Linked DNA regions of Homo sapiens: region 1 is linked to region 2. Evidence: promoter capture Hi-C in 16 types of primary human blood cells and fetal thymus (Javierre and others, 2016). All regions are on one chromosome and are shown on one strand. Each heading gives the region's core, a stretch centred on a gene start or on the middle of the fragment in contact. The rest is flanking DNA. Distances are from core to core; before and after follow the strand shown.

Region 1 (2,800 bases), core at 233-2,732, 120 kb before region 2:
TATACTCCAGCCTGGGCAACAGAGGGAGACTCCGTCCCCCAAAAAAAAACAAAAAAGAAAGAAAGAAAAGGGCACTACAAAGGAAGCCCAAGAGGAGGGGCTGGAGAGTGGAGAACTGTGAGGCAGAGGTGGCTCAAGCCTGTAATCCCAGTACTTTGGGAGGCCAAGGTGGGAGGATCGCTTGAGCCCAGTTAGAGACCAGTCTGAGCAACATGAAGAAAGCCCATCTCTAAAAAACCGACCAAACAGGCTGGGCGCGGTGGCTCATGCCTGTAATCCCAGCACTTTGGGAGGCCAAGGCGGGCAGATCACGAGGTCAGGAGATCGAGACCATCCTGGCTAACATGGTGAAACCCCATCTCTACCAAAAATACAAAAAATTAGCCGGGCGTGGTGTGGGCGCCTGTAGTCCCAGCTACTCGGGAGGCTGAGGCAGGAGAATGGCATGAACCTGGGAGGTGGAGCTTGCACTGCATTCCAGCCTGGGCGACAGTGACACTCTGTCTCAAAAAAAAAAAAAAAAAACCCGACCAAACAAAACCAAGCAAACAAGCAAAACACACAAAAAAACAGCCCTCAGGACTGGTGGGGGCGGGGTACAGATATTCAGGGACCTCTTACTGTCCCTGAAACCATTCCTGGGTAGGTCTGACATACATGAGGGCTGCGGGAGTGCAAGGCCTGGAGAAGCCTCAGGGGTGTCCAGGTTGGAAGGGCCAGGGGTGTCTGATTGATGGGAGGAGCGGGGGAGTGGAACTGGCCCTTTGACCCCAACATGGGGTCGACTCTCAGCCCCACCTTTACCGACTGTGTGGAGGGCCAGCATTCTAGCCCCGGCTTTGGAAAGGACTGGGTTGCCCAACACATGGCCCTGTACCCGGACCCTGCCAGCGTCCCCACCCCAAGACTGCCCGAAAACCAGTACCCAATGAGTGGGGAATGCATGACCCGGCTATGAGCCTGGACTTACCAGCCAGACAGTGGCAGAAAGGGCGGCCTGCCTCTACAGCGACGCTGAGGCTGGCTGAAATGGCAGGGCTGAAGGGCAGCGTCTGGACCCAGAAGGTGCCAGGCGGCTTCTGGACTCCCCAAGGCCTTCACAACAGCCCTGGATCCTTTCCACCAACCAGCCTAAGCCAGCAGTAGCAGCTCCAGGACCTGTTTCAGGTGGTCACGGACAGGGGGCCCGCAAGGTCTCCAGAGCCCGAGGGATCTGGGGAGGGGACAAGCAGGCGGGGCTCCCTGGCGCTCACCGTTTTAGGGTCTGCGTGAGAAAGCCTCCCTCACATCCCCCAGGGTCTGCCCTCCCTGCAAGCTGGTGGGCTGCGTGGGCCACCGGCCTGCCCCGTTATCCGAGAGGGCGGAGCGAGCCGTGGGCGCCTCTAGGGGTGCGGGAGCCGCGGGAGCGCAGGGGGTGGGGCCCGGCGGGCCAGGGGAGGGGCGGCGGGGCGGCGGGCGGAGGGAGGGGCCGGCGCCTGCGGCGGCGACAGCGGCAGCTGCGGCGCGACCAGGCCGGGCACCTCCGAGCGCAAGGACAGCGCGAGGTCCGCGCAGCCCAGCGCAGCCATGTGAGTGTCCCGCGCCGTTTCCGGGGCTGCAGGCCGGGCGGGGAGCAGGCGCGGAGGTTCTGGTGCCCCCCCGCCGGCGCCGCCCGGTGGGTCCGGGATCTGCGGCTCTGTCCCGCCTCACCCCATCTCCCGGACCCCGGCCGCGCCTTGTCTTTCCTCCCCTCCCCCCGGGCGTGGAGAACGCAGCTTCTCCCACAAAAGCCGCCGCCTCCGGGCCTGCAGAGCCTGGCGCTGCTGCCTTCCTCCCACGGCAAGGCCCTGGCGGCCGGTGCCCCGGGGCGCTGGGATGGGCCAGGCCAGAGAGCGGGCTCAAGGCGCCAGCCTGGGCCCTGGCACGCGCGCTCCCTGGGAGCCCTTGCTGCCTTCGCCGCAGGGGAGGCTGGGCTGGAAATGGGGAGGGGGCGACGAAGGGTGCGGGCCGGCCTAGGAGCTGAGCTAATCCTCCTAGCTCTAGGGGCCGGCCTAAGCGGCTTTGTGGCCGGCCCCGAGGTGACCGAGCCTGGGCTGGAGCCGGGCTCTCCGCCCAAACCTGGCGTAGCCGAAGCCGGAGAGGATCGTCCTTGTCGGGGAACGGAGCTTTTCCCTGGAAATGGAGGTTGGCGCAAGGTTCCTGCAACAGCCGGGCCTGGGCTCTCTGCAGAACTGGTTTGGGCAAGGGGCTGCTCACCAGGGCTAGAGGTCGGATTCAGTCCAGATTCAGCACCCTTTGTCCTCCTCTCCAGGGTGAGCCCTGAGTCCGGCCTCCCCTACAGACCCTCCCCAGCCAGTTCTAACGTGTGTCCAGGCTGGCCGCCCCAGCACCTACTGTGCGCAGCCTCGTGTAACAATACTTGTGCCCTGGCTGCAGTCTGCGGGGCCGCGCCCTGGGCCTGCCGCATTCGGCCAACGCACAGCATCTGAGGAGGGTTATGACCATCTGGCAGATGCAGAAACAGGCCCAGAGAGGTTAGTAGTATTCTCAAGGTCACACAGCTGGTTTGGGAGAAGCGAGGATTAGATCTGAGTCCTTGCCCCTGCGACACCCACCTCCGTGGTATTGGAGGGAGGAGAGGAATGATAATTGGGGGCTGAGGTACAAAATACTCCAGCGGGACAAGGAGGACTGGCATAGCTCCTTCTTCCACCGCCCTCTCCGGCTTGGGTCCTGTGACTGCGGCGGGAGAGAGGAGCAAGGTGAGCCGCCCCAGGGGTCTGGGTTTGGGTGCGGGTGAGGGGAGGACTCAGGACTCTGG
Region 2 (2,809 bases), core at 17-2,516:
CTTGTCACCCTTAGCTGTCATTTCACCTCCACCTTGCTGAGCTATGGGCAGGGTAGACTGCTGTTCCTTACCGCTTAAGTGGAGTTTAGATTGTAATAGAAGAAAAAAAATGCAGTCTCTTCCTGTGAACTTTCCAGAATCTAGGTCCTGGTCTTTGAGAGGGCAACAGGCTACCAGGCCCCACCCTATGACTGTCTGACCCCTCTCAGCCCTGGAGACACTGGCTTATTTCTCTCTCTCTGGCTGCCCCCTCCCAAACTCTCTCCAGCCTGGGGAGAAGGCAGACACAAGAAGACCCTCATGTACCTGGACGACTCACTCCGGCCCTCTATGAAGTGCTTGGGGTTCAGGGCTCACCTTAGCCCCAGGCTTCCCCCCGAAGGCTCCGGGTACACCCTCACCTTCGGCCCTGACCCCACCTCTGCGGCAAGGAAGGGCGTCTGGACCCATCAGGCTGTTTTTTTTTTTTTTTTTTAGACAGGACCTGGCTTTGTCACCCAGGCTGGAGTACAGTGGTGCGATCTCCGCTCACTGCAAACTCTGCCTCCCAAGCTCAAGTGATCCTCCCACCTCAGCCTCCCAAGTAGCTAGGATTACAGACACACGCCATCACGCCGTCTAATTTTGTAAATTATTTTGCAGAGACAGGGTCTCCCTATGTTGCCCAGCTTGGTCTCGAACTCTTTGGCTCAAGCGTTCCTCCTTCCTCGGCCTTCCAAAGTGCTGGGATTACAGGCGTGAGCCACCGCGCCTGGCCCCATCTGACATTTTTTCCCACCCATTCAAAATCTCTTGGATCCCTAACAGGGTCACGGACTCCAGGTTCGGAGCAACGGGCAGGACCTCCGGTGTTGGCAGAATTCGGGCGCTCCTTGCTGAACAGTCCCCCTTCTGCCAGGCGCCTCGTCCACCTCCGCAGCCTGGGCTTTGGAGGGGACCAGCCCCGGTGGGCCGCGGGGATCCCCAGGCAGGCAGCGTCCCCTGGTGTTCGCGGCAGGGACTGCGGGGCGGGGTGGAAGCCGGGGGCAAGGACCCGCTGGAGGCCCGCCACACCCGCGACCCTCCCGGCCACGCCACTGCCCACCCCGACGTCTACCCTGGCGGAGAAGCTCCTGGGCGACGGGGCGGGCGGGCAGGTGGGACTCGGCCCCCCTCCCACAACCCCGCTCCCGGGCAAGCTCTCGAGCCGCGAGGCCGGGGCGGGGAGGGGCCGGGCCGGGGGCGGCCTGGCAGGAAGCGGCGCGCACCTTCCGCCGCCGGAGGAGCAGGTGGCTGCCGTGCGGGTCTGGGCCCCAGGCTTCCTGTGTGCGCGCTCGTCCTCTGCTGTTTCCCGCCGGAGCTCGTTGGGCCTCCCCGGCCCGCCCGGCCCATGGCCCAGACCCCCGACGGCATCTCCTGTGAGCTCCGAGGTAAGCGCTGGCCCTTCCTGCCTTCTTGGCCGGGAGGAAGTAGTGCAGCCCCAAAATCAGAGGCCCACCCAGCGCCCCAGAGGGCCTGGTCAGAGGTCCTCCCTGCTCCCCAGGAGGGCAGGCGCCCCAGATCCTCTCCCCTCCTTCCTCGCTGGCCGCAGATAAGCCCCAGGGCCCCAGCCTGGCACAGACTGTGGGCACCAGTGGCTTCTGTGCAAGGACTGAAGTCACCCAGCAGGCTGCCCTTCCACAGGCGAGATCACCAGGTTCCTGTGGCCCAAAGAGGTGGAGCTGCTGCTGAAAACCTGGCTACCCGGGGAGGGTGCTGTGCAAAACCATGTCCTGGTATGGGGCAGGGGACAGAGCCGGGGAGGCGGCTGTGGCCCCACAGAAAGAGCCTCTTGCTCTGCCCAGGATATCAGACTGTCTTTCCCCAGGCACTGCTACGATGGAGAGCCTACCTGCTGCACACCACCTGCCTCCCGCTGAGGGTGAGTCCCAGGGCCTGGCCACACCCCCGCCCGCCAGCAGCTACCTTGGCAGGGGGCTGCATCTGCAGAGTGGTCCTTCTTGGCCTTGTGGGCCCTGACTTTGCACCAGCACTGGGCTCTGGGCAGCCGACAGGAGGGGAGTCCAGGCAGATCTGGCTCTGCCCCAGGCTGCCCAAAGGACTGGACTTCCATGAGGGCGGGGCTGGGGGCTTGGTCCCAGCTGATCTAGGCCCTTTCTAGGTGGACTGCACGTTCAGCTACCTGGAGGTCCAGGCCATGGCGCTGCAGGAGACACCCCCTCAGGTGAGACACCTAGTACCCTACCTGGGCCTGCAGCCTGGTCTTCATGCTACCACCATCACCTGCGCCCATGTGTGGAGCCGAGGCCTAGTAGTGCCCCTTCCCTAGGTCACCTTTGAGCTGGAGTCCCTGCGTGAGCTGGTCCTGGAGTTTCCTGGTGTGGCCGCCCTGGAACAGCTGGCCCAGCACGTGGCTGCAGCCATCAAGAAGGTCTTCCCTCGCTCGACCCTTGGGTGAGGCCTGGCAAATTCGAGGGGCTGGCAGGGGAGGAGGGAGTGCATGAGAAGGGCTGCTTCCCATCCCAGAGGCTGGAAGTCCTTTGCCCCCTTCTCCTTAACCCCCTACCAGGAAGCTATTCCGGAGGCCCACACCAGCCTCCATGCTGGCTCGGCTGGAGAGAAGCAGCCCCTCGGAGTCCACTGACCCCTGCAGCCCCTGTGGTAAGGGTGAAGGCAGAGCCACAGGCCTTCCAGCCTGCCCCACCTCTGCCTCCCCAGACCCGCAAGCTGGGGGGGCCCCAAACTGAACAGAGCCATTCAGGTCCCAGCCACCACCTAGTCTGTGGGTCTGGTCTTCCTCCATCGCTGATGTTTTGTCTCTCTCCTTTTC

Evidence for each region. The method cuts DNA at HindIII sites, captures the fragments that hold promoters and counts their contacts. A CHiCAGO score of 5 or more calls a contact.
Region 1: a contact is called between the fragment with the promoter of RIPOR1 here and the fragment with the promoter of CARMIL2 in region 2, in 10 of 17 cell types (endothelial precursors, naive B cells, megakaryocytes and 7 more). The highest score is 9.5, in endothelial precursors.

What each region holds. Positions count from the first base shown.
Region 1 is chr16:67,527,347-67,530,146 of GRCh38, forward strand. It overlaps RIPOR1 (RHO family interacting cell polarization regulator 1), which reads left to right and starts at 1,483. Exons shown (of 22, transcript NM_024519.4): 1 at 1,483-1,568. LOC100505942 (a long non-coding RNA gene) reads right to left here and starts at 1,399. Exons shown (of 2, transcript NR_104656.1): 1 at 971-1,399. RefSeq lists silencers at 1,440-1,549, 1,580-1,809. The HindIII fragment of the contact is 8,124 bases long and covers 1-2,800 here.
Region 2 is chr16:67,643,878-67,646,686 of GRCh38, forward strand. CARMIL2 (capping protein regulator and myosin 1 linker 2) reads left to right here and starts at 1,267. Exons shown (of 38, transcript NM_001013838.3): 1 at 1,267-1,409; 2 at 1,663-1,754; 3 at 1,847-1,900; 4 at 2,141-2,203; 5 at 2,309-2,433; 6 at 2,549-2,640. The coding sequence starts at 1,370. RefSeq lists a silencer at 961-1,350. The HindIII fragment of the contact is 10,344 bases long and covers 1-2,809 here.